Linked DNA regions of Homo sapiens: all the other regions are linked to region 3. The links are contacts of gene promoters, found by promoter capture Hi-C in blood cells and fetal thymus (Javierre and others, 2016). All regions are on one chromosome and are shown on one strand. Each heading gives the region's core, a stretch centred on a gene start or on the middle of the fragment in contact. The rest is flanking DNA. Distances are from core to core; before and after follow the strand shown. Region 1 has its middle 4.0 kb from the start of OR3A2. Region 2 overlaps SPATA22 (spermatogenesis associated 22). Region 3 holds the start of OR1G1 (olfactory receptor family 1 subfamily G member 1). Region 4 holds the start of OR3A3 (olfactory receptor family 3 subfamily A member 3). Region 5 has its middle 4.5 kb from the start of OR1E2. Region 6 overlaps SPATA22 (spermatogenesis associated 22).

Region 1 (4,290 bases), core at 476-2,975, 260 kb after region 3:
GTCAGAAGTTCAAGAGCAGCCTGGCCAACATGGTGAAACCCTGTCTCTACTAAAAATACAAAAATTAGCTGAGTGTGGTGAAGGGCGCCTGTAATCCCAGCTACTGGGGAGGTTGAGGCAGGAGAATCACTTCAACCCGCAAGGTGGTGGAGGTTGCAGTGAACCGAGATTGTACCACTGCATTCCAGCCTAGGCGACAGAGTGAGACTCTGTCTCAAAAAAAATAAAAATAAAGCTAACATTTAGTGAGGAACTGTTACATGGCAAGCACTTTTAAAAAGAATATAATCACAAAGGAAGATTTTTTAAATCTTTCTAAAACTTCTCAAGTAAATTTAAAAATCAAAATAAGACTTCTACGCAAAGACAAACTGCAAAACCTGGCTCAATATATACAATGTCTGACTAGACCATTAAAATAAATATTTGAGGAGGGAAAACTTAGACTAATAATATAAAATAAGCCAAAAAATTATCTCTAATGAAAGTCTCGAAGCCGACAAGCATATGAAAACATATTCAACATTATTATTCATCAGGGAAATACAAATTAAAATCGTAAGATACTACTACATACCCATCAGAATAGCTAGAAACAAAAGATTGATAGTATCAAATGTTAGCAAGGATGTGGAGAAATTAACACCCTCATATATTGCTAGTAAGAATGTAAAAGAATAAAACTGTTCTGCAAACTATTTGCAGTGCCCAAAGTTTTAATATTTACCCAGCCTACAGCCCAGAAATTTTGCTCCTGAAGTACCCAAAATAAATGAAAACAAAAGATGTGTATTAGAATTCTCACAGAGGCTTCAGTCATAGTAGCTAAAACTGAAAAACCCAAATGTTCATCAGCAGAAAGAATAAGTACGGTGGCATAATCATTTCAATGGTGTACTATGTAGCAGTGAAAAAGATTGAACTCTGATGATTCACACGACATAGATAAATCTTTAAAACATTATGATGAGTAAAAGAATCCAGAAAAAAAAATATTGTATGATTCCATCTATTCAAAGTTCATGAGCTGGCAAATTTCTCTCTGGCAGTAGAAACCAGAGTAGTCATTACCTCTGGATGTGGGTGGGGACTCACGAGGAGGGGGCACAAGGAAAATTTCTGAAGTGACATAAATCCTCTGTATCTTGATCTGTACAGTGGTCACACGGGTGTCAAATTCAGCAAGCTGTACACTTAAGATTCGTGCACTATATTTAAATTATATTACAGTAAAAAAATCCTTGGGTGAGGAAGCTTTCTGGGTTTTTCAAAATTTCAAGGACCAAATACTCCCCTTTTCAGACGCTCAAGGAATAATCCCCAGGCTCTATATAATTCATTCCAGAACCAAAAATTAAGTAAAATTAAAATAGCTAATTTACTAAAGAAGAAAAATACAAGACACGAATACAATTATAGACCAGTTCTATCTGTGAAAATTGATATCAAAATGATGTCTAAAGCACAAATAATCCCATCTTTTCATATTTGAAATCACACTAATATGTTCAATTTAAACATTTAGGATTACCTCATCAGAGGCAAAAAGGCTTCTTAAAAAATCAATACCAGTTCCTGATCAAAGCTCAGAATAAAATAAAAAGCTACATCTTTAACAAAATGTGTTAGAGTCAGCCAAGGCTGTATCTTATCCTCTCTCTGGATGAGAACATTCTTTAATTCTCTAAATGGCAATAAAATGGAAATTATAGGACCCCTAGGTAATCCTATTAAAAGATTTTGCTCTCCCTTTATTCTTTATCAACTATAATACCAGGTATAATGTACACTGCTCCCAGCGAGGATTCTTCAATGCTTCAAACAGCTTCAGTGCCTCTGAACTCAGCAGTGGATTGCTTGCCCTGGACCTACCATCTAAGTCTCTGCTAGCAGCACTGAATGACTCGTACATAACAACGACATTGTAGTTACATACGAGAATGTTCTTTTGAGGAGATTCAGAACTCTAAATTATATAGTGATGAAGTGTCTTGATGTCTGAACATTATCTCAAGAGGCTCAGCCATTAAAAAAGAATAAAAAAGAAAGAAATAGGGTTGGGGAGAGTATAAATAAGAAAGAGAGGGAGGGAGGGAGGAACAGAGAGAAATTGACATATGCTACAAAAATGAGCAAATGGAATGTGGCCTGATTTGAGAAATTTATGGAGTGTGAGAAAGGGAAACTAATTTGACATTAAGCTTGTAACCTTTGCTCTGACTATCACAGGTTTAATAATGTAGGATTTTTTTTTAAATCTATGAGTTCAATCATACATCTTGCTTCTGAAGTGGTAATATTTACATAATTATAATATTATAAATTTTGTTTTCCATTTTTATTTTTAAAAACAAATCTCTCATTTCGTGTATATTGATTGTGGCATATAAACTTCAAACTTGCTACAAAATTCTTGGTCTTACTAAAGTGCAGAATAAGGAAAAAAAGAAACGATGATGTTCCAGATATAATAGCAGAAAACTGTTTAGAAATGCAAGTGCAGACTTGAAAATCAAAAGGAAACTTTTGTGCTATAAAAAATTATAATAAAAGTCAGCAAATACAAAAATATAGACTGATGAAAAAATAATCCTACATGCATCAGTGGGGGGAAAGATGACCATATAAGAAGTAGAGAAAAGAGAGAATATCAGCCTTACTTCAGATTTTTTCACAGCTATTTCAGAAAATGAGTTATAGATGAGAGAACAGATGTCCACAAATTTTATACCTAGCTAAGTCATCCTTCAGATATATAAATACATATGCAAAAGAAAAATCTAAAATATGTGAAAATTCAATAAATATAACATGGATGTACTAGTCCTTTAAAAATGACTTGATGCAATGCAACCAACCAAGGAATTAGTCAAAATTAAAAACTCGAGAATTTAAAAGTCATAATATTAAAAGGATGGTATGTAAAAATTTATTTAACAATAATAAAGAAAAATATGTGTTATGGTAATAAATGCAGATAGCATGCTTTATCTTTTAATAACAAAGTTGAATTTAAGGCAAACAGCATTACAGAGACCAAAATTCACTGCTATAATAAAGGAAATAAAAAGATTGTTTTAGGGTAAGGCCAGGTTGGAAAAGACAATATAGGTATAAAAAATATATCAGGAAAAAATGATATGACAGAGATAGAATGATTTTAACATTTTAGTAAGAATAAGTTAAGAAGGAAACATATGGATCAATAGAACAGAATAGAATCCAGAAACAGAACCAACCATCTTGAGTTAATTTTTGTATATGGTGTAAGGAAGGGGTCCAGTTTTAATCTTCCACATTTGGCTAGCCAGTTATCCCAGCACCATTTATTGAATATGGAATTCTTTCACCATTGCTTGTTTTTGACAGCTTTGTTGAAGATCAGATAGTTATAGGTATGCAATCTTATTTCTGGGTTCTGTATTCTCTTCTATTGGTCTATGTGTCTGTTTTTGTACCAGTACCACGCTGTTTTGGTTACTGTACCCCTGCTGTATAGTTTGAAGTGATGCCTCCAGCTTTGCTCTTTTTGCTTTAGATTGCCTTGACTATTTGGGCTCTTTTTTGGCTCCATATGAATTTTAAAATCGTTTTCTCTAGTTCTGTGAAGAATGTCAATGTTTAGTTTAGTTTATAGGAATAACACTGAATCTATAAATTGCTTTGGGCAATATAGCCATTTTAATAATATTTATTCTTCCTATCCATGAACATGGAAGGTTTTTCCGCTCATTTGTGTCATCTCTGATTTCTCTGAGCAGTGGTTTGTAGTTCTCCTTGTAAAGACCATTCACCTCCCTAGTTAGCTGTATTCACAGATATTTTATTCTTTTTGTGGCAGTTGTGAATGGGAGTGGATTCCTGACTTGGCTCTCTGCTTGACTGTTGTTGGTGTATAGGAGAACACCTGGACACAGAGGGGAGCAACACACACTGGGGACTATTGGAAGGTAGAGAATGGGAGGAGGGAGAGGATCAGGAAAAATAACTAGGGTTATTTTTCTACAAGTTACCCAGATAATTAAATAGTGAAAAGGATAGCATTTTTCAACAATTCATGGTCTAAAACTGGATACATCCCCAAAACTATCAAAAGTGAAAGAATGAACAAATCACGGTGTCTTTATACAATGGAATACTACTCAGTAATAAAAAAGTCACTGATCTACACAATTACATATGGGTACTAGGCTTAATATCTTGGAGATGAAATAATCTGTACAACAAACCCCCATGATACAAGTTTACCTGTGTAACAAACCTGCACATGTACCCCTGAACTTAAAAGTT
Region 2 (4,357 bases), core at 1,858-4,357, 320 kb after region 3:
TAGCACTATGAAAGCTAACCATCACATATAAAAGCATGGACCCCCTTCATTTCTTGATAAGAATGTCTATTGGTGTTTATAATGAGTATTGTGATATTCTTAAAAGGATTATTCTGGAGTGAACCTGAACAACTCACCAAAGAGAACCTGGGGAAATGAATGGAATCAGCATGTCCTTTTAATAGGCTCAGGTTATTTTAATATTTATATTCTGTAAATGAGGTGAGAGCCAAAGGCATCTTTCACACAGGAAAAAGCAATTTAGTGGGAAGTCCAACAGGGGTTAAGATCTTTGAAATAAGATGTTCTACCTCTGACAGTATTCTAGCTCTGACAGAAAACTGACATGAAATAGAATACCATCTGCTATTGCAGTTACGTGGCTACTGGTAAGAACTGAACAAAATAAGAGCTAAGTCAAGCTTCAACAGAGTAGTAACAGTCATGCCAACCAGCTAAGAGATATGCTTCAAGCAACATGAGTAGGACTTGATAAAGAATCCCTGAAGTATATGGGAGTTCCAGAGGCCAGAGGCATGGAAACCTCCAAAAAGCCAAAAACGAAAACTGAACAAAACCAGCCCAGCCAACACCTTGATTTTAGCACTGTGATACCCTGAGTATAGAACGCAGTCAAGCCCACATGGACTTCTGATCTACAAAACTTGAGTTAAGAAGTGGGTGTGGTTTTTAGCTGCTAAGTTTCCATTACTTTGTTACGCAGCAATTGAAAATGAATACAGCGTGCTTTACTCAAAGTCTGAGTCTCTATTGAATCCAATGTCACTTTATATAATAAAGCTTTTTCCTTAATGGTAACAAGAGAGAAACTGGAATCATTTTTAGGTGAAAGTTAAACATGTGAAATGACTGCACTGATAGAAATCTACATCTATATATACACACATTTATATTTACATATATATATATAACAGGACAAAAGGAAAAGGAGGAGGCTGTATCAGTTTCCCATTGCTGCTTACAAATTACCACAAACTTAGTGGTTGGCTTAAAACAACACAAAAGCATTATCTTAATAGTTACGGAGGTCAGAAGTCTATAATGAGTCATCAAAGCCATGTTCCTTTTGGAGGCTCTAGAGTAAAATCTATTTCCTTAATTTTTCCAACTTCTCAAAGATGCCTGCATTCTTTGGCTCATGGCCCCTTCCTCCATCTTCAAAGCCAGCAAGGTAGCATCTTTCAATGCTTTCCTTGTATAAGGGACCCTTGTGATTACATTGAACCCACCCAAATAATACAAGATAATCTTCCCATTTCAAGATCCCTAACTTAATTACATCTGCAAAGTCTCTTTTGCCATATAAGGTAGCATTCACAGGTTTTGGTAATTAGAATGTAGGCATTTTAGGGTGCATTATTCTGGTAATTAGAATGTAGACATTTTTAGGGAGCATTATTCTATCTACCACAGGGACTATTATTAAAACCAGTTCTTTGAATACACTTTAGGGAGTAGCAAAAAGCAGACTGTTTTATTTGGAAGAAAAAGGACTAATCAGACATTAAAACCTGTCCTCCAGAGAGTATTACTGAAGTATTTTTAAAGTATTTTACCTACCTAATACTTCAAAAAGAAGTACAGTTTTCTGTGCATGTTCACGCCAATACTTCATGCTTTCAATAACTGCAGAAATAATTCTTAAAGAACTAGCTTTTTCCTTAAACTGTAACTGATACAATGAGGTTTCCTTTTGAAAAAATAAGAAACATAGTATTAGAAAAATATTTGTTTTTTTCATCATACTCGTTTACCTTCTACGTAAAAATTCTAAGTCCTTACAATGGACAAGTGTGTAAAAAGAACTACTGAAAATTTTAGTATAGTTACTTCCCTAAAATAAGGCCATCAATACTATATTACAGATGGAGAAACCAGGGTGCACTTAGAGACAATCAAGAGGAGAATTATTTATATAGGTATTCATTCACTCATTCATTCATTGACTATTTTAAAGCATCATATGCCAGATCCTGTGACAAATATAGGTAAGGCCATTCCTTTCCCTAGTGCACTCACACTCTAGGGGACTCTAGGGAAGGAGCCAGACACATTCATTCATTCATTCGTTTCAAAAGTGTTTACTGAGCACCTACTACATGCCAAACATAGCTATTTAGGAAAAATTCATGGACAAAACAGTCAAGATATCTGTCCTCGAAGATTTTATTGTCTAGTGGAGGATTTAAAAAATAAGTAAACATATAACAGAATGTCAGGAAATGTACTTTTTTTTTAGGAAAAAAACACACAAGGTAAATGGAAAGAGAGAGAGATGGGGGTTATTATTTTAAGTGGGTTGTTGAATGAGGACAGTGGGAACAGCAAGTATAAAAGCCCTGAGATGGAAATGTTCTTAGCATTTTTGAAGATCAACTAAGAATACAGTGTGTTAAAATACTAATTTTCAAAGGCAAGGGGACGCTTTCCTTTGTGAGGGTGAGGGTTGTGAAGAACATATGATGGGACCTTTTTTCAAAATACAGGTAGTTTCTTCCCTCTTCCCCCGCTTAACGAAGATTCTAACATGCCTCCTGTTGATGATGGCCACAGTAAACCACTGTTACTAAGGTGATTATGTCATATAATTCTTGAGTACAAGGAAACATAAGATTGAGAACCACTGTGAAACATGCTTTATTAATCTTATTTCCAACAAAAAACAAAACATGCAAAAACAAATTTTACCCCGATGGCTTTTTGAAAAGATTGCTTTTTCAGACATAAGGGCAGAACAAAAACTAACAACTGTAAGAAGTTGTTACCATTCCTAGGCTGAAAGGACAAGAGGAGAAAATAAAAGTATCACGCCCAGGAAAGCTATACTCATGAAGGGGCTACATCATGCAGTGACACAGCCACTGCTGGTGATGTAACATTTAAGACAGGAGAAAGTGAGAAAACCCAACCTTTCCTCCCACCCTATGATGTCGTACCAGTGACTCCTACTGGCTGACCTCTAGCAAAAGCCAGCAAGTAAACAATCTCAGGATGATGCACTACATAGGACAGTTCAGCCTTCCACAACAGAGAAGGGCAGGTGAAGAATCAAGTGGGCCAAGGGGCCAGGGAGCAGAGATGAGGAATAACCAGCACACATAATATATAAATAACATTTACAAAGAGCAATCAGAGCACTGAGCGTAGAGAGGAAGTACAGTTGAGATACAGGTATAGGGAAGAATATAAACCAAAGCACAGAGTGTATGCTATGTTTAGAGAATTGTGACGAGTCTGAAGTGGCTAGAGCATTGGACAATTAGTAGACTATGAAATATGAGGCTACAAAGGTAGACTAGGACAAGATCATAAAGCAAAGGTCATAATAAGTTGATCATAAAGAAAACTATGGCCTGCAGTGCAAATCTAACCTGCTATCTATTTGTGTAAACATTTGTTGGAGGAGAGCAGTGTCCATTCATTTATGTATTGCTTATGGCTGCTTCCAAGCTACAGTGGCAGAGTTGAGTAGTATTGCTGAGTAGCTGCAACAGAGACAGTACGGCCCATAAAGCCAAAAATACTGTCTGGCCCTTTAAGAAAAATGTTTGCTGACCTCTGTTGAAAAATACTTAGAATGACATATCAAGAGCCTGGGTAACTTCATAAACAATGGATAAACTGTCTTTATCTTTAAAATGAGTGTAAAGTGAAAGTCAGAATCCAGCAGAAAACTCTAAAGTTTGAAAGGAAAAGGAGCAGCCATTCATACCCTCTAAGAAAATATTTTGGAAACTAACATTCATCCACTTCAATGGAACTGAATATTTATGCTAATCAAGTAATGTATGTCATGGAATTTATTTCAGGCGCTCTTATCTCTGTAGTTTTCTAAATATTTACCTCATATTTTTAAAAATGTAAATAAGTCATTAATTTGTATTTAAACATTTACCTTCAGGGTGTTGTCTTCTGGAATATCATCCAACATTTGTTTCTTATATTGATTTTGTTGAAAATTGGGCTTAAGTGTCTGTAGTGCACTGTTTTTGTCTAGCCCTCTCATTGTGCAGCCAGATATTTTTGATGAATGTGTTTGTCTGAGTAGCTCGGTTTCTTTGTTGCGAGATAAGTTAGGAGGTTCAGGTATTCTTAATTGTTTTTGTTGTTGAGCTCCCGAACTCACTGGACAAGAATTTTTTCCATCATTTGCCACTAAGTTTGTTCGTTTACATTGAGGCTTAAAATCATTTTTATTCCAAGTTTTCAAGCTGGTATTTTTGTTACCATCTCTGTAGCTGTAATAGTGCAAAAAAAAAGCATTTGTTTCTATATGGTTTCTTAATTACAAAAAAAATTAATAATGAAAAATTCATTTATATGGCAATTTATGACT
Region 3 (3,917 bases), core at 586-3,085:
CCCTATGAAGATTAATCTGATTATGGTGTACAGAGTTGATGGAAGGCGGGTAGACTGAGGACTGAAGACCAACTAGGAGGAGGCTTTAATCATTCAGGCAGGAGAGCATAAAGTGTCCATAAAAATCATTCTTTTCCCCTAACTTTAAGTTGTAACCATTTCAGTGGGATTCAGCACCTATCAATGGTACCAGGCATTACGCCATGTGGTAAGCATTGGGGCTGCAGAGATGAAATGAGTGTGGAAAAAATTGCCCTGAAGAGGAACCTGAGGTTTTCACATGAAGTCTAAGGTGGCAGGAGGATTATGGGTCTTGGAGGCCTGGTAAGACACTGCAGTGAGTCTGTCTGAAGATGCCATCTCCATCAAGCCCTTCCTAGACCCAGTTCCTCATCACTGAGCATGGGAGCATCACAGATACGGGCAGTGCCTGTGGCAGAAACACTGTGGGTGGGGATCCGAGTGATCAGGATCACAGTGATGCTGGGGGAAGGTCGTCCTTCCCTGAATTTTATTCTTGGCCCTATACAACAGCCCAGCCAGATATTCCCTTATTTCAGTCATGAGCTGTCCCATGTTGTTTAAAAAGCATTAACTAATAACATTATTAAATCATCAATATTATTAACTATAGTAAATATAATAAGGCATGACATTATATTATACATCTGGATGGCTGTGGTTTTAGAACATAATTGTAAGAACTTCACCTGTGACATTGGCCTGATGATGGGTTATGATGCAGTCCTGTAGCTTAGACATGAATATTTCAGGTTCAGATCGTAGGTACTGGAACAGAGGTCTCTAGATTCTCTCCATCTTTCATTCTTCACTGCTTACTGTGGTGAACGCAGGTGCATGGAGACCCCCATATTGGATGTCAAGTCACTACCACTAAGGGGAATGAATTTTCCGAACCCAGATTAACTTTCTCAGGGAAGACTTTATTTCTTGGTTCCTCAAACTGTAGATAAAGGGATTCAACATTGGAGTTACCACTGTGTACATCACTGATGCAACTGTGTCCTTCTGGGCCGAGTGGGTTGAGGGAGAACTGAAATCAACACAAAAAGAAGTCCCAAAGAAGAGAGAGACCACGGAGAGATGAGAGCTGCAGGTGGAAAAGGCTTTCCGCTTCCCCTGAGCTGATGGGATCTTCAGGATGGTCGAGAAAACGTTCGTGTAAGAGATAATCAGGCAAAGCACACAAATGAGTCCTGTGAGACCCCCAGTGATGAAGATCACCAGCTCATTGGTGAAGGGGTCTGTGCAGGACAGACTCAGGAGGGGATTGATGTCACAGAAGAAGTGTGGGATCTCATGGTTTGCGCAGAAGGACAGGCTGTTCATCAGAAGTGTGTGTAGAAGGGAGTGGAGGGCATTCATGATCCAGGATGCAGACACGAGGAAGATGCAGAGCCCAGGGCTCATGATCAGAATGTAATGAAGTGGGTGGCATATGGCCACGTAGCAGTCATAGGCCATGACCGCCAAGAGGAATGCCTCCAGCATCACAAATAACATGAAAAAATACAACTGTAGTAGACACCCTGAGTAGGAGATGGCCTGACTCTGGATCTGTATGTTTGCCAGCATCTTAGGGACTGTGGTGGACACAAAGCAGGCATCTGCAAGGGAGAGGTTGGCTAGAAAGAAGTACATGGGGGTATGGAGTTGAGTGTCAGTAATGATGACTAGAATGATGAGGAGGTTGCCTGCCACCGTGACCAAGTACATGAACAGGAAGGACCCAAAGAGGGGCTTCTGCTCCTCCAGCTGCTCAGAGAACCCCAGGAGGAAACATTCTGAGATGCTGGTCAGATTTTTCCCCTCCATTTGTCTGTAGGAAGAAAGTTGGGTTAATTGGGTGACGTTGGTAAGCCCTGGATTGTGAACTCTGAAAATTATGCAATATTCCAGTGTTGATCTTCTAGTGTGAGGTTGGATCATAGGAAATCTCCACTATTTGACTCTTTGGGACCTGCAAAAATGGCCATTTCATAGGGTTCGACTAAATATTTGCAAATTCCTGTGCTTGGTGCTATGAGAAACCACAGATTTGTTTGTAATGCAATGAGAGGCTTTTAAATTTATTCCATAAGCATTAAGCCAATATGTGTATTTTGGGGCTGGGCTGGAGGGGCTTGCTGGCTTTGCTCTGGTAGTGTTCATGTAGAAACTATGACATTTATACAACCCAAGATTTTACAGGTCAAATGAGCCCATTGTACCAATAATTAAAAAGACAGCTCCTGGAAAGGGGTTTTGGAATTGGGAAAAGCATGGCTAACATGGAAATCATTATCACTGTTATCTACACAGCGGGTCTGGCCAGAAACCTGAGCGTCATTATTGACCCACGTTTCTCCCTCCCTGCCTACATCCAACCACCACCAAAGCCTGGCAATTTTACCTTCTCAATATGGCTACAATTTACTGACGTCTCTCTGTTTACTGGTCACCATCAGTCCCAGCTGCAGCTCATGTCATTCAGGGCACTGTGATTTCTCACTTGGATTTGGGCAGTTGATCTCCATGCCCCCAGGTATGCCCACCTGCCACCTGCTGTTCTAAATACACAGAGAATAGGCTTGCTAAAAATCAAATTCGACTCTTGTCTTTCTGCTTGAAAAATCCTTCATACACTCCTCATTACTCCCAGGATAAACTCTAAACTGAACACGGCTGAATGTCCTGGATCTTACCGTCATTTATTACAGACATCCCCAGTTCCTCATGAAACTCCCTCCTCCACTCCACACTTTATGCACTAATCATAGTTTCAATTATTTTAAAGGCCCAGATACTCCCTCACCTTTAGGCTTTCTCAGGCTGAAATAGTTTTTCCCATCCCATTTATCAGACGAGCTAAGCTTCAGGTCTCACCTTAGATGTCACCTCTTCTGGGAAGTCTTTCCCAACTCATCCTCTCACCAGAAACTCAGGTTCGTGACCTTCCTAATGCAGTGCCTCCCCCATCACAGCACGTGTCACCTTGGATTCTGAGTGTCTGTTTATATGAGTGTCCCTCATTCTGCTGTGAGCATCACTGGGAGTAGGCAGAGATGGTGCCTAATTGGCTCAGCTTTGAAATCTAGCATTAGCCTTGAGGCTGGTACAACACAGATGCTCAGTATGAATCTATCATGTAAATACATAAACCCCAGAGAATGGAAAGAGTGGGAAGAATGGAAAGGGGCTTTGCTATAGAGGTAATATCAGGCATAAGAATTAGCCTGAACCTTTATTATTATTGTTATGATTTTTGAGATGGAGTCTCACTCTGTCACCCAGGCTGGAGTGCAGTAGCACGAACTCAGCTCACTGCAGTCTCCACCTGCTGGGCTCAAGTGATTCCCTTGTCTCAGCCTCCTGAGTAGCTGGGATTACAGGCCACTGCTACCACACCTGGCTATTTTTTTTTTTTTTTTTTTTGTATTTTTAGTAGAGATGGGGTTTCATCACATTGGCCAGGCTGGACTTGAACTCCTGACCTCAGGTGACCCACCTGCCTCGGCCTCCCAAAGTGCTGGGATTACAGGCATGAGCCACCACACCCAGCCAACCTTTTTGTTAGTAGGTTCAGTGGTAGCTTTGAGTTAATGGAGTCCTGGCCATAGGAATATGTAGGGAAACACTACGGTTACAGAGAGATAAGTGTTCCAAACAAATGCATTCTTTCTAGGTGAAATTCTTGGGATGGAACAGTGTTTCAGCTGAGTGATTAACCCACGGAATCAGTTTCCCTGTGCCGCTTTTTTTTACCTTCAGAGTTTAATATAACCTATGGATTTGTAAGCCTTAGTTACGTACACTAAAATTACTACTTACTAGGCAATAGTGGCATCTTATGTCTTATTCTCTCTCTGACCATGGATATTTCTTATTTATTTATTTTTGAGACGGAGTCTCACTCT
Region 4 (3,958 bases), core at 1-2,500, 280 kb after region 3:
AAGCGCCTCACTACTGAGGGCTCAACAGGAAACCAGCTTTGAAGAACACTTTCCCCTCTTATATCCCTTCTGGGGCCTCCTCCTCCTCCCTCCCCAGGTCCAAGACAAGTTCAGGAATTTGCTTGTCTCTGCTCAAATGCCCTGGTTGATATCTGAGAAAGAAGAGGCAGGCGGATCATGAGGTCAGGAGACTGAGACCATCCTGGCTAACATGGTAAAACCCCGTCTCTACTAAAAAAATACAAAAAATTAGCTGGGTGTGGAGGCAGATGCCTGTAGTCCCAGCTACTCGGGAGGCTGAGGCAGGAGAATGGTGTGAACCTGGGAGAATGGCGTGAACCTTGCAGTGAACCGAGATCGCACCACTGCACTCCAGCCTGGGCGACAGAGCGAGACTCCGTCTCAAAGAAAAAAGAAAAGAAAAGAAAATGTCTCCTTAGAAAGCCCATATAGAGTCTCCAGCTGCACCTCTCCCTTCCTGGGGGACTTTGAGGACATAGGCAAGTCCTGTAGGCCTCAGTGACCCACATTAAGCAGAGCCGACATCATCTGCCGTAACAACCTGCCCACAAAGCCAGGGCTAGAGGCAAAGCCTTCCTTGTGAGAAAGTCTAAATACCAGAAGGTGTGAGGCATCGTTGCCATGAGTATGAAGGGCCTGAGGTGTCTCCTTTTCCGTGTCTCTCCCCCCATCCTTCTCTCTCCTAGGAGAGCCAGTTTCTGAGTGCCCCAGAGGAGAATGCTGTAGTGAACACAGCCCTGTACAGAGAAGACAGCAGCTTGATTCCTCTCATTTCTCAGTCATTAGCCCCTCACTCGCTCTCCGGGAGGATAACGGGGTGTGTGCAGCTCCTCCCCTTCTTTCCTGAGGAAACCTCAGTGGCTTCCGTGCCCTTGCCAGGGTGAGTGTTCTCCTGAGTCCTTCCTCTGCTCCTACAGAATAGAGAAGGGGCTTCTGTTGCCATCAGCTTAGTAAGCCTGGTGCGATGGATGCCCCTGACAGGGAAAGCCATTTAGGGGAAGACCTGGCACTACAGCCCGGAGGTCCTGGGTTCTTTTGTGGTTTTCCCCGTGCTCGCCTCTCTCAGATGAAGCCTGCTGCCTGTTAGCATGAGTGTGAGGAGACTCGCTCAGACCAGTTCACTGCCCGCACCCACTGCATCAGGCAGCGGGGAACCCTCGCTCCAGCGAAGTCCTTGAGCCTCGTCATGTTGGGCGCGTGAGGGATGGGCTGGAGTTCCAGAGCAGGGAGCTGTCACAGCTCGTAAGGGGAGCCTCGAGAGTGGTCGTGCAGGAGGGCTCCCCAGTGGGCCTCGTGGGGACCCTGTCAGACCCTCTGGGTGTCTCAGGGTGACCTGAGGTCATCCCAGAATCCCCCTGGTTTTAAGCAATTGTATCTCTAGCTGTCTGAGGGTTGGCAACAGCTGTTTAGTGGTTCTTCTACCCCTGACCATGACTTACTTGTCTGTAAGGTGTGGCCCCTCCTAAGGGCCGTATTGTTTTGGGAGGTTTAAGTAAAAAGAAGCATGTGGACTGGTCCATGACCTGCTTGTCCTGTTAACACAAAGGAGTCCCTGCCACAACCTTGCACCCTGCATTTAACCTGTACCTCCCCTAAAGCACACTAAGCCAGGAAAGTCTAGCCCAAATATTAATGTGTCCGGAAAGTCTTCCATGACAACTCTAGCTTATACTGATGCTCTCTTTCTCTGAAATTGTACGAACGTTAGAACAATTGATAATTCGTTTCACAAATATTGAAGTATTATGATGGTTACTGCTATTGAAAAGACTGAATCAAACATGTTTTGTCCTCGAATTACTTACAGAGATGTAAGAAAGATATGTTCTATAGAGCAATGACTGAACTGGAAGGTAAAGCATAGTAAGTTGCATGAAATAATATGTGTGGGAGTTTAGGAGAGAAGCAGCAGGAGGGAGGCAAAGACAGGGAAAGAGAGAAACAGAGAGACAGGCAGGAGTGAGAGGGAGAGTGATCCTTTTGAGATGGGAAAGTTTCACGGAAAGATGAGTTCAGCAGCCAGCAACTGGCGTCAAGTCTTGAAATATTTGGGAAGTGGACTTGGAGGAAAACTATCGCAAAAATATCTTCTTCAAAAGAACATATGTACAGAGCTGTTACCTACCCACTGATTTGCCAATTTGCAAAGCATTTACAATTACCAATTTCATCAAGATAATCATACCAGAAGATGATTTCTTCCCACTCCCAAGTCATGTGATCTTAGAATTTTAAGGACCTGGATGGATGCGGTGGCTCACGCCTGTAATCCCAGCACTTTGGGAGGCCGAGGTGGGCGGATCATGAGGTCAGTTGTTCGAGACCAACCTGGTCAACATGGTGAAACCCTGTCTCTACTAAAAATACAAAAATTAGCCGGGCGTGGTGGCAGGCACCTGTAGTCCCAGCTGCTCGGGAGGCTGAGGCAGGAGAATCACTTGAACCTGGGAGGTGGAGGTTGCAGTGAGCCAAGATCATCAAAATCATGCCACTGCACTCCAGCCTGGTGATAGAGCAAGACTCCATCTCAAAAAAAAACAAAAAAACAAAAAACAAAAAAAAAAAACTTTAAGGACCTCTTAGAGATTACCGCATCCACATTCTCATCCATGTGGCATCCCCTCTGCAGCTTCCCCGTGGCCTGAGCACACACAGTGGAGACCTCATTTGGAAGGCTGGTCATCGAGACAGCCTCACATTGGAGACATCCTCTTGCTGTAGAGACTCCAGTGAGATGCACGTTATCCACATGAAACTGCGGGTCAGTCTTTAGAGACTACCTTGACTCTTTTTTTTGAGACAGAGTCTCAGACGGAGTCGCCCAGGCTGGAGTGCAGTGGCGCAATTTCAGCTCACTGCAACCTCCACCTCCCGGGTTCAAGCGATTCTCCTGCCTCAGCCACCCGAGTAGCTGGGACTACAGGTGCCCGCCACCGCACCGGACTAATTTTTTGTATTTTCAGTAGAGACGGGGTTTCACCATGTTAACCAGGATGGTCTCGATCTCCTGACCTCATGATCCGCCCACCTCGGCCTCCCACAGTGCTGGGATGACAGGCGTGAGCCACCATGGCCGGCCAGGATTTTTTTGAAGCTCCACATATTTCTACTGTGCAGCTGAGGTTGAGACTCACTGCAGTACATTTTCATAGAGCATCAGCGAGGAATGAATGCCCGGTGGATTTCCTAACATCTTTACAAAGAAAGAAAAACACGATGCAGGAAGGTAGTGTGAATTCTCCGAAACGATCTCAGGATTTTAAGAGTCACAAAACCCATCTGATAGTGCTTTGACAATTGGAGCAGCAATGCGATCAGAGACCACTGGACACATTCTTGGTAACTGGAGAAAAGACCCAAATCACCTCAGGATGTCAGAGAAAAGGCATTTACTGGCAAGCCAGGAGATAGCTCATCACCAGAAATGGAATTTGGTTGACAGGAAGTAAAATAGCCTGGGAGAGCTGCTGTCTACTCCCAGAACCCACCCAAGGCTCTTCTGTGGATAGCAACTACCGCAGCGTGCAAGGCAAGGGACTTTGAAATTTACAAGTCGTAGCCACTGAGAGGGTGGGAATAATTCGATCATTCATAAAAAGTATATTAATAATCATTAAAAAAATAATATAGGTAATATGTTAACATTTAAAATCTCCAATGAAAAACACTAAAACCCATTATATTACTACCACTCTTTGAAAACCACTGCAATAGCTCAGAGTTTCCTTCTGTTTATTATATGTGTATGTGGTAACAGTGAGATCATATTTTAAGTATACAGTTTTGTCTTTCCTTTTACTTACTGAATATCTTACCACAAGAATTTGCTTGATTTTAAAGTCATTTCTGTTAATGTGAATTTTTTACAATTATTTTTTCTAGTTTATTATGGTATATATAAGAAAACAACATATTATCGTATATTATTTTTATATTT
Region 5 (4,133 bases), core at 1,369-3,868, 300 kb after region 3:
ACAATGATGCTGGTGAAGCTGCAGAGAAATAGGAACACTTTTACACTGTTGGTGGGAATGTAATTAGTTCAATCATTGTAGAAGACAGTGTAGCAATTCCTCAAAGACCTAGAACCAGAAATACCATTTGCCCCAGTAATCTCACTACTGGGTATATACCCAAAATAATATAAATCATTCTGTTATAAAGGTACATGCACATATATGTCCACTGCAACACTATTCACAATAGCAAAGACATGGAATCAACCCAAAAGCCCATCAATAATACACTGGATTAAAAAAAATATGGTACATATACACCATGGAATACTATGCAGCCATAAAAAGGAATGAGATCTTTATTTAATTTATGGTCTTTTTTTTGAGACAGTGTCTCACTCTGTCACCCAGGCTGGAGTGCAATGGCACGATCTAAGCTCACTGCAACCTCCACCTCCTGGGTTCAAGTTATTCTCCTGCCTCAGCCTCCATAGTAGCTGGGATTACAGGCACCCGCCATCATGCCTGGCTAAGTTTTGTAGTTTTGTAGAGATGGGGTTTCAACATGTTGGCCAGGCTGGTCTCGAACTCCTGACCTCAGGTGATCTGCCCGCCTTGGCCTCCCAAAGCTGAAATTACAGGCGTGAGCCACTGGTGATCATGTCCTTTGCAGGGACATGGATGAGGCCAGAAGCCATTATCCTCAGCAAACTAATGCAGGAATAGAAAACAAAACACCATATGTTCTCACTTATAAGTGAGAGCTGAACAATGTGAACACATAGACACAGAGAGGGATACAACATACTGGGGCTTGTTGGGGTGGGGGGGCAGTAGGAGGGAGAGCATTAGGAAAAATAGCTAATGCTTGCTGGGCTTAATACCTAGGTGATGGGTTGATAGGTGCAGCAAATCACCATGGCACACATTTACCTGTGTAACAAACCTGTACATCCTGCACATTTGCCCTGTAACTTAAAATAAAATAAAAATAGAAACACAAAATTCCAAAACCTATAGAATACAGCAAAAGCAATATTAAGAGGGAAATTTATGGTAACAAACTCCTACATAAGAAATATTTCCAATAAACAACCTAGCAATATACCTCAAGGAACTAGAAAAGTGAGAACAAATCAAACCTGAAAGTAGTAGAAGGAAAGAAATAATAATAAAGATCAAAGCAGAAAGAAATAAAATTGAGACTAAAAATGTGAAATATTAATAAAATGAAAAGTTGATTTTCCTGAAAAGTTTAACAAAATTGGCAAACCATTAGCTAAACTAATTAAGAAGAGAGAAAACCCAAATAAATAAAATCAGAAATGAAAAAGGAGACATTATAAGTGATACCACAGAAACACAAAGGATCATTAGAAAATATTATGAACAACCATATACCAACAAATTAGAAAACCTAGAGGAAACAGATAAATTCCTGAAGATAAACTGCCTATAAAGATTGAACCAAGAAGAAAAAACAAACCTGAACAGACCAATAATGAGTAATAAGATTGAATCTGTAAGTAAACATCTGCCAACAACAACAACAACAAAAAAGTCCAGGATCAAATGGTTTCACTGCTGAATTGTTCAAAACTTTAGAGAAAAAAAACCCTTAATACAATTTCTTTTCAAGCTGTTTCAAAAAACAGAAGAGGAGGAAACTCTTCCAAACACATTCTATAAGGATAGCATTACCCTGATACTAAAACAAGACGAAAAAACAAAAATAGAAAACTAAAGGCCAATATCCCTGATGAACATAGATGCAAAAATTCTTCACAAAATACTAGCAAACAAAATCCAACAGCACATCAAAAAGATTATGCACTATGTTCAAGTGGATTCAAGTGGATTTATCTCAAGAATGCAAAGATGGCTCAACATATGGAAATCAACATATGAGATACATCACATTAACAGAATGAAGGACAAAACCCATATGATCATCTCAATAGACACAGAAAAAGCATTTGATAAAATTCAACATCACTTTATGAAAAAAATTCTCAATAAATTAGGTATAGAAGAAATGTACCTAAACACAATAAAGACCAAATATGGCAAACCCACAGCTAATATCATGTTGAACGGAGAAAAGCTGAAAGCTTTTTCTCTAAGAACTGGAATAAGACAAGGATGTGTACTCTTGCTAATCTTATTAAATATGCTACTGGAAATCCTATCAAGAGCAGTTAGACAAGAGAAAAAATAGACAGCATCTAAACCAAAAAGAAGGAAGTCAAATTGTCCTTTGCAGATAAATAGTCCTATCTATAGAAAAGCCTAAGAATCCCACCAAAATGTCTTAGATTTAAATTAAATTAAGCAAATTCAGTAAAGTTGCAGAATACAAAATCAACATACAAAAATTAGTAGCATTCCTATACACCAAAAACAAAGTAGCTGAAAATAAATCAAGAAAGCAATCCCACTACCTAGGAAAAAAATCTAACCAATCTCTATAAGGAAAATTATATGAAAGAAAATGAAGAGGATAAAAAAAAAAAAGGAAAAACATTCCATGTTCATGGATTGGAAGAAATAATATTGTTAAAATGACCATACTACCCAAAGCAATCTACCAATTCCATGTAATTCCTATCAAATAGAAATGATATTCTTTCATGAAATAGAAAAAAAAAATCCTGAAATTTATATGGAACCACGAAACACCCCAAATAGCCAAACCAATCCTGAGCAAAAAGAAAAAAACTCACTGTATCACACTACGTGACTTCAAACTACACTACACAACTATAGTAATCAAAACAGCACGGTACAGGTATAATAACAGACAGACCAATGGAACACAATAGAGAATCCAGAAATAAATCCATGTATTTACAGCCAACCAATTTTCAACAAAAACACCAAGAACATACACTGGGAAAGTCAGTCTCTTCAATAAATTGTGCTGTGAAAACTGAATATCTACATGCAGAAGAATAAAACTAGGCCCCTACCTCTCACCATATACAAATATTAACTCAAAATTGATTAAAGACTTAAATGTAATACCCAACACTATGCAACTACTAGAAGACAACATAGGGAAAATGTTTCAGCAACTTACTCTGGGCAAATATTTTATGGATAATACCTCAAAAGCACAGCCAACAAAAGAAAAAATAGACAACTTGGATTATATCAAACTAAAAAGCTTCTGCACAGCAAGAAAACCATCAACAGGATGAACAGAAAACCTGTAGAATGGGAGAAAATCTTTGCAAGCTATTCATTTGGTAAGGTTTTAATATCCAAAATGTACAAGGAATTCAACTCAACAGCAAATAATAATAATAATAATCTAAGTTAAAAAATGGGCAAAGGATCTGAATAAACATTTCTCAAAAAAAGACATACAAATGAACAACGTGTGTGAAAAAATGCCCAATATCACTAATTATCAGGGAAATTCAAATCAAAACCAAAATGAGACCTCATCTCACCCCAATTAATGTGAGTATTATCAAGAAAACTAAAAATAACAAATGCTGGCAAAGATATGGAGAAGGATAATTCTTATATATTGTTGTTGGTGGGAATGTAAATTAGTACAGCTATTATGGAACATGGTATGGAAGTTCTCATAAAAGCTAAAAATAGAACTACCAATTGATCTAGCAATCCCATTACTAGGTGTGTATGCAAAAGAAAGAAAATAGGTATGTCCAAGAGACATTTTCACTCCTAGCACTATTTATGTTAGCCAAGATATGGAATCAACCTAAGTGGCCAATCAACAGATGAATAATGAAAATATGGTGTATATATACACAATGGAATACTACTCAGTCAGTAAAAAGTATAAAATCTTGTCATTCATGGCAACATGGATGAGCCTGAAGGATATTTTGATAAATAAGTCAGGCACAGAAAAATAAATACCACATATTCTCATTCGTGTGTGGAAGCTTAAAAAGTTGGCAGTATAGAAGTATAGAGTAGAATATTGGCTGCTAGAGGCTGAGAAGGGGAAGAAGTGGGGTTATAGAGGTTAGTTAATAGATAAAAAATTATAGGATAGGAGGAATAAGTTCTAGTGTTCTATAGCGCTGTAGGATGACTCTGGTAAACAATTTATTGCATTTTTCAAATAACTAGAAGAGAGAATTTTGAATGTTCTCAATACTAAGAAATGATAA
Region 6 (3,854 bases), core at 1,337-3,836, 340 kb after region 3:
AATTAACAATACAAGTATTGCTACATCAGAGATATTTTTAAATTCTAGCTATATAAGATCCTATTAATTTTTAAAATGTGCCCCCAAAATGTAAATGTATATAACCAGCATGTACCACGTATACTTCAGAATGTCTGCCTGCCCATTCCTCTTCCAGAGGAAAGTAAAAAGTCAACAACAACCATTAAGACCTCCCAGCACCCACCAAACCTCAGCTAACTGGTTCAGAGGTAAGAGGCCTAACCCAAACCTAAGCCAGGATTTCAGTGGCCTTACTTAAAAGATGAGCTGAATCACAAGCTGTCTCTAGGATGTGAATTAAGAGATCCAGAGGGCAGTCTACTGGTGACCTCTGAGAACTAGAACTAAAAGGTTATGCAAACTCACAGGAAGGGCAACTTAGCTCATGTGCCAGTTGAAGCTGTAAGGAAGCCAACTGGATGAAGGTGTGTCTTAGTCCCTTTGGACTCTACTATAACAAAATACTTTAGAACGGGTTATTTACAAATATGATAAATGTATTTCTCAGTTTTGGAGGCTGGGAAGTCAAGGCTTCTTACTGTGTCCTCACATGACAGAAGGACGGAAAAGCTCCCTCATACCTTTTATAAAGTCACTAATCTCATTCATGAGGGCTCTGCCCTCATGACTTAATTACCTCCTGAAGGCCCCACATCTTAATACTATCACACCAGCAATTAAGTTTCAACATATAAATTGGGGGGGATCACATTTGGACCATAAACAGCTAACAAATCAATGAAGGCAAAAATGCCATAAAAAGAGAAAAAGACTACGGCCAGGCACCAGATACTTCCAGGCATCTGCACTTCCTAAAATCTATCTTTTTTTTCCCATTTTTCCTGTGTTCCCATGCACACTTATCCCCACTCCTGAGGCAATTCAAGTGTTTCCATTCTTTACCACCAAATGTATAGGCTATAACACAATATCCACGTGAATTTTGACAAAGAAAAAATATTTTTTACAATATATGTTACTACTTTATTAGAACAAAGACTCCAAATCTAAGATACTCCATTTAAATGCTAAGCCACCCTTGTAGATAAGGAAACTTAAACTCCTGACCTGGAATGTTCAGAAAGTGCTATGTAATTTCTATATGTGGATAATGGAAAGAAGAAAAAATAAACTTTCTATTTTCATTATAATATAAATTACAATTTTCTATAATCCTAGTTTTGTATTTCCTGAAAATTTTTACCTTATTAATTTTCTTACCTGTAGGTAGAGGAGGAAAATCATAATTGTCAGAAGGGGTACTGATACCTGAATCATCTTTAAGTGGATTAGAAGTTAATGGCTGTCTGTTCCTCTTTTTCTGATTGAACAACGGAACAGGCAAACAGCCTAAATTGAATGTACCAATAAATTAGTACATAATAGACAAATAAGCAGATCTAGTTGTAAAATAATTACTAGTATAATACACACTTTACATTTATCTACTTCTATATGCTAATATACTTATAGATTTCTATAACCTTAGAATGATTTTTACATTCTTTTTAAGATCCTGAATAGCCTAATTTGTTTCTTCAAAAAACTTTTCTTATTCTACTCTAACAGTTTTAATTCCTCCCATATGGAAGTAATTCCCATCTCCCCCCTCATCCCCCAACCTTTCCAAATCCACTTTTTGTTTTCCTTATCCCCCTCCTGTGCTTGCCTGTTACCATATCGACTGCAGGGGACCTTTGAAGTACAACAGAGGTGAGGAAGAACCAAACTCTGAACCATGCTTTGGACAATAGTGGCACACCCTTTTGGGCCTTGGTTCTCAAAGTTTCATTGGACTAAGATTTATCTGGAATTCTGCTTAATGTGCAGTTCCTAGACTCCACTCTCATAGATTTTATTTCAACAGATTTAGCCTGGAACTCAAAACTCTGCAATTTTAACAAGCACCTCGGGTATCTGTAATTATATATTTTGTGGATCATTTTGAGAATGCCTTAAAGAGTAATAATATCCAGTCCAAATGAGAATAAATACTACTACCGATTCCTCCAGATGGCGGATCTAGGATCTCAATTCAGGTCAAAAGTCACAAAATATAAACTTTGAAACTTAGGGAACTCGAAGGGAAAAGAAGTTCAAAAAGCTTGTGCATTGCTATAGAGCAAGTCAGTGGAAGAATCTAGATAGGACACAAGATTCCTAAATATCAGTTTGGATCTCTTGCCACTGTACCATTCTCTAACTGGTCATCATCAATTGTTCTACAGGCAAATACAGACTCTGTGAACAGTCTCTGATGAAAGGCTGGGAGAATTATGTGGGCTCTGGAATCAGACCGCCTAGGTCTTGAATTATGACTTCAAAGTAGGTTTGAATTACAATTTCAGAGTATGATCTTGGGCAATTTCCCTAAACTCTTTGTGCCAATATGACATATACTGATAGCATAATGATTAAGAGCATGGACTAAGAGCCAGATTCCTAGGTTCAAATTCTGATTCTGCTACTTCATGGATTACTTATTTAACCTCTTTTAGCCTTGTTTTTCTCATCTGAACAACAGAAATGATTATAATAACCTATCTCAGGGTATTGGTGTAAAGATTAAATAAATTAATATATATAATTAATGTCTTGAATACAGTTAATCCACCATAAATAATAGTTACTATTATCTTCATTATGCATCATCATTCCCCTGGTTCTCATCATCCTTGCCATCTGTCTTTATACTAATAAATTGGGAAAGCAAAAATGATAGGAGAAGCTATTAGAAAGACAGAAGTGCTTCCGGAAATATTTTTAACAAGTAAGTCACAAATACAAACAAAAATAGATCTATTTCTTTGTTTTCAGTTTTAAAGCATAGAATAACTCAAGCACATCGAATTTGTAGAAAGAATATCAAAATAAATCTAAGAAACTTTGATCTTACTCCCACCTCTACCACTAAATGTTTTGTCTTGAGTAAGTTATTTTACTTCCTTGGACCTAAAAAGTAAAGAGGCTAGATTAACTGTTCAATCTATTTTAAATTTATTTCCAATGTTATATCTATAAACTATACAAGCTTTATATGCTATACAGAAAATTTAAAAATAAAAAGTTGTTCAATACCTGCTGTACTTCGAGCTGAATTTTCATTTAGGCTTCGCTTCATTTCCTTCAATATCAAAATCTATAATTTTCTATTCAGCATTCCAAATTTATAATATGACATTGTCCCACTAGACCTGCAAAGAAAGAAACTTATAACTCGTATTGTCTCAACTATAAAACCCAATCCTCAGCCCAGTGATTACTGAAATTATGGTTGTAAACTACTTTCAAACCTGATCACGTAAACACTTTAGGGAGTCCTTTGCTTTCTAAGAGTTTACACCATAATCCACTTTTCCAACCCTGTTCAAATTAAGTTATGACTAGGGCAACTGTAACCTTGCTTCGTAAACATATGTGCATTTTTTCACACAGTATATGTAATTTATTTCAGAATCCCGCACCCACAAAGAGAATTCTGAACCACACCTACAAAGAGGAAAATGGACCACAGCGTTGGCAAACGTACATGCTTCCAAGGCCAAGGAGGAAACACAGTATTTAGCCACCGGGAACTTCCTCCATGCCCCACTTTAAGGCATTGTGCAGGACATCTGCCTTTGCATCAGTTTGAAATGCCTGGATTATATAATATCAAAGACTAAGTCTTCCTGAGGTCAGGAGTTCAAGACCAGCCTGGCCAACATGGCAAAAGCCCATCTCTACTAAAAATACAAAATTAGCCAGGAGTGGTGGCGGGCGCCTGTAATCCCAGCTACTCGGGAGGCCGAGGCAGGAGAATCGCTTGAGCCCGAGAGGCCGAGGTTGCAGTG

The links. The method cuts DNA at HindIII sites, captures the fragments that hold promoters and counts their contacts. A CHiCAGO score of 5 or more calls a contact.
Region 1: a fragment that was not itself captured here is called in contact with the fragment with the promoter of OR1G1 in region 3 in 8 of 17 cell types (M1 macrophages, endothelial precursors, M0 macrophages and 5 more); the score reaches 15.6 in M1 macrophages.
Region 2: a contact is called between a fragment that was not itself captured here and the fragment with the promoter of OR1G1 in region 3, in 8 of 17 cell types (M1 macrophages, M2 macrophages, M0 macrophages and 5 more). The highest score is 15.5, in M1 macrophages.
Region 4: a fragment that was not itself captured here is called in contact with the fragment with the promoter of OR1G1 in region 3 in 6 of 17 cell types (M2 macrophages, M1 macrophages, M0 macrophages and 3 more); the score reaches 12.0 in M2 macrophages.
Region 5: a contact is called between a fragment that was not itself captured here and the fragment with the promoter of OR1G1 in region 3, in 4 of 17 cell types (M1 macrophages, M0 macrophages, endothelial precursors and 1 more). The highest score is 11.5, in M1 macrophages.
Region 6: a fragment that was not itself captured here is called in contact with the fragment with the promoter of OR1G1 in region 3 in 11 of 17 cell types (endothelial precursors, M2 macrophages, M1 macrophages and 8 more); the score reaches 19.7 in endothelial precursors.

Annotation. Positions count from the first base shown.
Region 1 is chr17:3,388,169-3,392,458 of GRCh38, forward strand. No RefSeq gene overlaps it. Among named protein-coding and RNA genes, the nearest start is that of OR3A2, 4.0 kb to the left of the region's middle. The HindIII fragment of the contact is 947 bases long and covers 1,253-2,199 here.
Region 2 is chr17:3,444,891-3,449,247 of GRCh38, forward strand. It overlaps SPATA22 (spermatogenesis associated 22), which reads right to left. Exons shown (of 9, transcript NM_001170698.2): 6 at 3,917-4,259; 7 at 1,582-1,711. Among named protein-coding and RNA genes, the nearest start is that of OR1E2, 13 kb to the left of the region's middle. The HindIII fragment of the contact is 4,617 bases long and covers 800-4,357 here.
Region 3 is chr17:3,125,716-3,129,632 of GRCh38, forward strand. It overlaps OR1G1 (olfactory receptor family 1 subfamily G member 1), which reads right to left and starts at 1,836. Exons shown (of 1, transcript NM_003555.1): 1 at 895-1,836. The coding sequence starts at 1,836. The coding sequence ends at 895. The HindIII fragment of the contact is 3,090 bases long and covers 1-2,871 here.
Region 4 is chr17:3,411,271-3,415,228 of GRCh38, forward strand. It overlaps OR3A3 (olfactory receptor family 3 subfamily A member 3), which reads left to right and starts at 100. Exons shown (of 3, transcript NM_012373.3): 1 at 100-214; 2 at 708-901. The HindIII fragment of the contact is 6,248 bases long and covers 1-3,958 here.
Region 5 is chr17:3,427,306-3,431,438 of GRCh38, forward strand. No RefSeq gene overlaps it. Among named protein-coding and RNA genes, the nearest start is that of OR1E2, 4.5 kb to the right of the region's middle. The HindIII fragment of the contact is 1,055 bases long and covers 2,092-3,146 here.
Region 6 is chr17:3,466,184-3,470,037 of GRCh38, forward strand. It overlaps SPATA22 (spermatogenesis associated 22), which reads right to left. Exons shown (of 9, transcript NM_001170698.2): 2 at 3,100-3,215; 3 at 1,243-1,371. The coding sequence starts at 3,142. Among named protein-coding and RNA genes, the nearest start is that of SPATA22, 3.7 kb to the right of the region's middle. The HindIII fragment of the contact is 927 bases long and covers 2,124-3,050 here.